2 separate regions of the Homo sapiens genome follow, and region 1 is linked to region 2. Evidence: promoter capture Hi-C in human tissues and cell types (Jung and others, 2019). All regions are on one chromosome and are shown on one strand. The core of a region is centred on a gene start or on the middle of the fragment in contact, and the rest is flanking DNA. Distances in the headings are between cores, read along the strand shown. Region 1 has its middle 16 kb from the start of LARGE1-AS1. Region 2 holds the start of TIMP3 (TIMP metallopeptidase inhibitor 3).

Region 1 (3,454 bases), core at 64-2,563, 1.1 Mb after region 2:
TTGCCTCTGTTAGGACGAGCAGGAAACCCAGCTCAAACTTTTGTCATGCTCTCAACTGCATCTCTCTAATTCTCACTGCAATACAGACTTGACCTCCTCATGTAGCCTAATCTTAAACTCTATTCTGGGAACACCCTGTCTTCAACAGGGAGCTTACCTGAAAACTGTCAGTGATTCTTTGACTCAAAACTGAATTGGTTTATGCTATTCTCTCTCACCCCATCCCCTTCTACCTCCCTCCCAGTGGGAATAGGATGGCATTTTAATAATCATGGATTTGGCTGGGCGTGGTGGCTCATGCCTGTAATCCCAGCACTTTGGGAGACCAAGGTGGGTGGATCACGAGGTCAGGAGTTCGAGACAAGCCTGGCCAAGATGGTGAAACCCCGTCTCTACTAAAAATACAAAAACTAGCCGGGCTTGGTGGCGCATGCCTGTAGTCCCAGCTACTTGGGAGGCTGAGGCAGGAGAATCGCTTGAACCCGGGAGGCGGAAGTTGCAGTGAACCGAGATCATACCACTGCACTCCAGCCTGGGCAACAGAGCGAGACTCCATCTCAAAAATAATAATAATAATCATGGATTTGCTGGGACTACTTCCTATCAGCTGCTTGGCTCCAAGCTTCCATTTTAGAGAGCTCATGGCCCATCCCAGCTTCCCTTTAGAATACAATTTATCATCTTATTTTATAAACCACTGGCTCTTTTTTTTGGTTCAAGCATCCACCTTGACTTCTCATTCTGGAAAGCCCCTAATGTTACATGGATAGCATTTACATATGGCATCTTTAATCCTTCCAACCGAATGTCTGGAGGTGATTCTCAGTGTTAACTTAATCTTCTCCACTTGCACCAAAAATTAATTTCCTATTCTTTAGACCTTGGTAGAAACCAGACGATTTGGTCACCACCCTCCATGTGGAGGCAATATTCAGTTACAAAAAGTAATTAAATCACCCTGTTCAACCTTCCTTTTGCCAGACTGATTTAAATCCCTGAAATCATTTTTTTTCCCTTTAGGTCACATATTTAGGCCCTATGTACTTAAAGGGCTTTCAAGAGTAAGTCTTATTATTTACCAGAGTAAAAGCTTTCCAGAAATAATAACAACCACAAGGACAACAATACCTTACAACTTGATGGCATTTAACTTTTTTTCCCAGTGCTTTTTTTTTTTTTTTTTTTTTTTTTTTGGCAAATACATTATCTTCTTTTACTCACTTAATGACTGTGAATTAGGGAAGGTAGATGTTATTTTCTCTGGGAAAAACAATAAAACTCAGCCTAGGAGTTAACTCCAGTAGAGGAACAGGATCCACTTGGACCCATGTAAGGCTTCGACCTCATCACTATAGCCTCCCTCAGAACCTCAGCTGACGTGCTTCTCTGTGGACTGCCTCCACATTTTATCAAAGGTCACCCAAGGATAATAATAGCCAACCTTTCTTGAGCATTTAATGTATGTCAGACACTGCACCCCCTGAGTCCTTTATATGCATCTTATTTTTCCAGCATCATGATGAAGGAGATGGCTCTATTATTAGACAAGTAAGATGAAGCTCAAGGAGGTTAAAGGACTTCCTCGGGATCATCACAGCTCAAACAGCAGAAGCTTCAGTCCCTGTGTGCTTAGATAGAAGGCTTTACTGCCCCAAGAATCAACTGAATGGACCTCTCCTCTATGTTCATTGTGGAATTCTTGGTGAGGACATTGTCTGTCACCTTCTGGAATGTTCTTATATAATACCTCCTTTCGGAAAATTCTTTCAATAGGTACAACATGCTTTCTTGGAGGAAAAAGTTTGCTGTTGTTAACATTGTGGTTTTTGTTTTGTGTTTTGTTTGGTTTTGTTTGAGACGGAGTCTCGCTCTGTCGCCAGGCTGGAGTGCAGTGGCGGGATCTACCTCCGCCTCCTGGGTTCAAGTGATTCTCCTGCCTCAGCCTCCCGAGTAGCTGGGATTACAGGTGCCCGCCACCATGCCTGGCTAATTTTTTTGTATTTTTAGTAGAGACAGGGTTTCGCCATGTTGAACAGGCTGATCTTGAACTCCTAACCTCAGGTGATCCGCCCGCCTCGGTCTCCCAAAGTGCTGGGATTACAGGCGTGAGCCACCGCGCCCGGCCTGTTTTGTGTTTTTATTACTACTTTCAGTGAATAAAAAGGTGTGTCATAGTGGAAAATAACAAGAGTTAGGAATTCGTTCTGGCTTAGAATGCTTGTTGGGAATCGAAACTTGATGGGTTTAGTTGCTGCTCTGTCACCTGCATGCTTGTGTAACTTTATACAAGTTGCTTTATCTCTTTGAGCCTTGATTAATTTAATTTCTAAAGTGACAAAGTCATAGCAAATTTAAGGATTGCTATAAATGCTGGAGATAATACATGTGAGAATACTACTGTAGTATTAGTGTGTCATTTTTGTGGGGACAAGGGACTACCCAAGGTTGGAATATCCTTCTTTTTTTGTTTGTTTTCCTTTGTGCGTGTGTGTGTGTGTGTGTGTTTGTGTGTGTGTGTGTGTTGTGCTGCTGGAGTGCAGTGGCATGATCACAGCTCACTGCAGTCTCGACCTCTCAGGTTCAAGTGATCCTCCCACCTCTGCCTCCAGAGTACCTGGGACCACAGATGCATGCCACCACACCTAGCTAATTAAAAAAAAAAAAATTGTAGAGACAGGATTTCACCATGTTGCCCAGGCTGGTCTTGAACTCCTGAGCTCAAGTGACCTGCCCACCTTGGCCTCCCAAAGTGTTGGTATTACAAGTGTGAGCCACTGTACCCAGCCAGAATATCCTTCTTACTCAGGATGAAATTCTCATTACTTTGGTCTTAGTGGAAAATAGGGTCCCAATTTCTTTTCTTTTCTTCTTCTTCTTCTTTTTTTTTTTTTTTTTTTAGATGGAGTCTCGATCTGTCACCAGGCTGGAGTTCAGTGGCACAATCTCAGCTCACTGCAACTTCTGCCTTCAGGGTTCAAGCAATTCTCCTGCCTCAGCCTCCCAAGTAGCTGGGACTACAGGCACACACCACCACACCCAGCTAATTTTTGTATTTTTAGTAAAGATGGGGTTTCACCATGTCGGCTAGGCTGGTCTCAAACTCCTAACCTCATGATCCACCCGCCTCGGCCTCCCAAAGTGCTGGGATTACAGGCGTGAGCCACCGCACCCAGCCCAGGGTCCCAATTTCTGATGTGGAAACTGAAGTAGAGTACGCATCACCAGCCAGGGTCTCCTGACTTTGATCAAAACAAACTGATTCTGGATGACTAAGCTGAAGAGAGCTAACTTACATCATTGGGAGGGATGAAGAAAGAAACTCAAGAGCTTAGGAACAATGCCTGAAACCATGCTGGGGAGCTGGCCTGTTGAGAAAGCTGCTGTGCTGCCCCTGAGTACTAGAGTTTGCACCCTTGTTAGGAACTCAATATCTTGCTACAGCTTCGATGCCACT
Region 2 (3,469 bases), core at 475-2,974:
AGGCAGGGAAGGTTTTTAAAGCTGGGTGGAGGGGACAAGTCAAAAAGATGTGGAAACTGGTTTCCCTTTCCTATGGCTAAAGTGCTCAAAGGGGAAAAAGGAGTTTCAAAAATGTTCTTGGAAATACCATCTCTCACGAATTCTTCGGCCTCTGCTGTCCCAATGTCACTTGTCTGAGATGTAAACAGAGGAGTTCTGAGAAAGAAGCTGAACTTGCATTTCTCCCTGTTTCTATTTGTTCCAAACTTGTGGCATTTCTAACAGGATGAAGCGGAAGAGAAAGGGAAAGAGACAAAAGTGTAGAAAGATGGAAGATCCCAGCTGCAAATGGCCATTTGCAGTTAGATGGAACAGCTGCTGACGTTCAGGGAAATGCATGTCTCTCTTCAGATGGGAAGGAGCAGTGGAAAGGGGTGACGAGTTCCTGGCTGGCCACCAATCATCCCATCTTTCTGTGCCGGTTCCTCATCTGGAAAGTGGGAGTGATACTTGTGCTTGCTTTTCCTACCCACAAAGATTATTGTGAGAGCTATAATACGGTGAGATACAGAATCCTGCTTTTAAAAATACAAAGCAGAATCAAGATGTCAATAATAAGGATAGTAATTGTGTTAGTTATCTGCAATCATCTATTATAGCTAGTCGTCTAGGATCCTGGATCGTTCTCCTGGTTTTACTACAGTTTTGGATCAGCTCACCCCCAAATCCCTTGCTGAAGGGTGGAGCTCTGTCAGCCATGGGCAGGGAACCACTTCCTCTTGCCTTTCTACTTTCTGTCTTTCAAACATGCCCAGGGTCTTTGCACTTGCTGTTCCCCCTGCCTGGTACCTCTCTCCTGTGGCTTGCCCCAGAGCTGATCCTTGTCTTTGTCCACTTCTCAGCGAGGATGGCACTTCAGGGAGCCCTTCCCTTACTATCGCAGAGAGAGCAGGCCCTCCCCAGTCATGTCCAACCCAGAACTCTGTTTTGTTTTCTTCATAGCCCTAGCATCACAGAAAATCACCCTGTGCATTCATGGATGTCCACGGGGGCAAGGGCTTTGTGTTGCTTAACCCAGCATCCTGAACCGTGTTTGTTGAATGAATACAGAACCCCGTTTGCTCTGGGAGAGCACAGAAAACAGTCTTCTATCATATATCATAGCCAGCTGCAAACAGCAGATGGCTTCCCATATCCCAGAGAGTAAGAACCAGAGAGAGAGAGAAAGAGAGAGAGTTTGGGTCTTTCTCCTCTGTGCCTGCTCTCTCCAGAGAAACTGGAGGGGTAGCAGTTAGCATTCCCCCGCTGGTTCCACCAAGCACAGTCAAGGTCTCTAGGACATGGCCACCCCTCACCTGTGGAAGCGGTCCTGCTGGGGTGGGTGGGTGTTAGTTGGTTCTGGTTTGGGTCAGAGACACCCAGTGGCCCAGGTGGGCGTGGGGCCAGGGCGCAGACGAGAAGGGGCACGAGGGCTCCGCTCCGAGGACCCAGCGGCAAGCACCGGTCCCGGGCGCGCCCCAGCCCACCCACTCGCGTGCCCACGGCGGCATTATTCCCTATAAGGATCTGAACGATCCGGGGGCGGCCCCGCCCCGTTACCCCTTGCCCCCGGCCCCGCCCCCTTTTTGGAGGGCCGATGAGGTAATGCGGCTCTGCCATTGGTCTGAGGGGGCGGGCCCCAACAGCCCGAGGCGGGGTCCCCGGGGGCCCAGCGCTATATCACTCGGCCGCCCAGGCAGCGGCGCAGAGCGGGCAGCAGGCAGGCGGCGGGCGCTCAGACGGCTTCTCCTCCTCCTCTTGCTCCTCCAGCTCCTGCTCCTTCGCCGGGAGGCCGCCCGCCGAGTCCTGCGCCAGCGCCGAGGCAGCCTCGCTGCGCCCCATCCCGTCCCGCCGGGCACTCGGAGGGCAGCGCGCCGGAGGCCAAGGTTGCCCCGCACGGCCCGGCGGGCGAGCGAGCTCGGGCTGCAGCAGCCCCGCCGGCGGCGCGCACGGCAACTTTGGAGAGGCGAGCAGCAGCCCCGGCAGCGGCGGCAGCAGCGGCAATGACCCCTTGGCTCGGGCTCATCGTGCTCCTGGGCAGCTGGAGCCTGGGGGACTGGGGCGCCGAGGCGTGCACATGCTCGCCCAGCCACCCCCAGGACGCCTTCTGCAACTCCGACATCGGTAAGCGCTCCTGGTGCCCCGCCCGAGCCCCACGCTGCAGCCAGGACTGCAGCGCTGCTTAGGGAGGCAGGGCGAGCCCCACTCCTTTCCTCTGCCCCAGGAGAGGGGCAGACGGGGTTGGGGCGGAGTGGAGAAACTCGATGTCCTTGGGCGGGGGCGCTGGCATAGCTGAGAGGGGAAGATGCCCTGCAGAGGAAACTCACAGTGGCTGAGGGAGCCCCTGGCCGCCTTTGCTTTCCTAACTTAGGTCGTGAGGTTCCTACCGGTCCTTTTGACATCTGGAAAATGTCCCCATTCACTACTAACGGAGGAAGGGCTAGAAGAGAAGGGTGGGGAAAGGGTTCCCAAAACTTGGAATGCTAACTAAAGTGCTGGGAAATTGAATAGTTAAAAAAAAAAAAAAAAGTTGCCCGCCATGTGCACGGAAAGTTGCAGGAGAAACTTGGAGTACTCCGAGTCTGCATCATCTCCTGCGCCTATGAAATTCATTCTTTTCACTGAGACCCAACCCAGCTGCAGGCTTCCCAGGCAAGCGCTAACCGAGCTTCTGGGACTGCCAAGTTTGGGTGGATTTAAGGGGGAAAATGAGGAGAAAGCTGTGGCATTGACCCACGCCCTGGAGGCACTGTGTTTGAGAGTGTTGATAGCCAGCAGAAGGTGCGAGGGGTCACTCACCACATAGCTGTGAAAATTCACAGGAAGGCTATTTTTTTCCCCCTTGAATGTGTGTGGGGAGGGGGAGAATGGGTAGTGGAAAACAGATTTGTCACCAAAAGAACAAACCTGCCAAGGGTCACATCACGGTGACAGTTCCAGACTGGACTTAGTGTCTTGAGTAGAGAGACCCTGTAAAGAGACCTCCTACTCCTTAGTGTGTATGGAGGGCCCCGAGAGCATCCTGGGAGGCTTGTCTGGGAGTGTTTGGGACACTTGTGTTTGGATGGCTAAAGGTGGAGTGGCATCTGGGAAACATCTCTCTCCTCCTTTCCAGCCCATAAAGCGTGCAAGTCCAGTGGCTCTGCTGGGAGAGTGTGTGTGTGTGCACTGGGCTGGGCTGGGCGGTGGGGTGGGACAGCCTTGCCGCCCTCTGCCTGTGTCGATTCAGAGGTGAAGAATGGAGCGTGTGTGTTTTAAGTACAGTCATAAAGGAGAAGGAAATTTTCCACTGAGTCTTGGGTGAGGGACTCTACCAGCGTGTTGTGGTGAGGAGGGGGAGGAGGTAGGAGCTTGGCAGGGGAGGCAGTGAGGGCCGGGAGGGGCACTGCTGGTGGGCTGGGCTGAGCCTAGAGGTCAGAGTGGGGGTGTGGTGACCAGAATGTCAGTGCAG

The links. The method cuts DNA at HindIII sites, captures the fragments that hold promoters and counts their contacts. A contact is called where the count stands out against the background at its distance.
Region 1: a fragment that was not itself captured here is called in contact with the fragment with the promoter of TIMP3 in region 2 in 1 of the 25 tissues and cell types used here (dorsolateral prefrontal cortex).

The regions. Positions count from the first base shown.
Region 1 is chr22:33,935,204-33,938,657 of GRCh38, forward strand. No RefSeq gene overlaps it. Among named protein-coding and RNA genes, the nearest start is that of LARGE1-AS1, 16 kb to the left of the region's middle. The HindIII fragment of the contact is 3,756 bases long and covers 1-3,191 here.
Region 2 is chr22:32,799,981-32,803,449 of GRCh38, forward strand. TIMP3 (TIMP metallopeptidase inhibitor 3) reads left to right here and starts at 1,725. Exons shown (of 5, transcript NM_000362.5): 1 at 1,725-2,142. The coding sequence starts at 2,022. The region is part of intron 6 of SYN3 (synapsin III); the gene reads right to left. The HindIII fragment of the contact is 19,598 bases long and covers 1-3,469 here.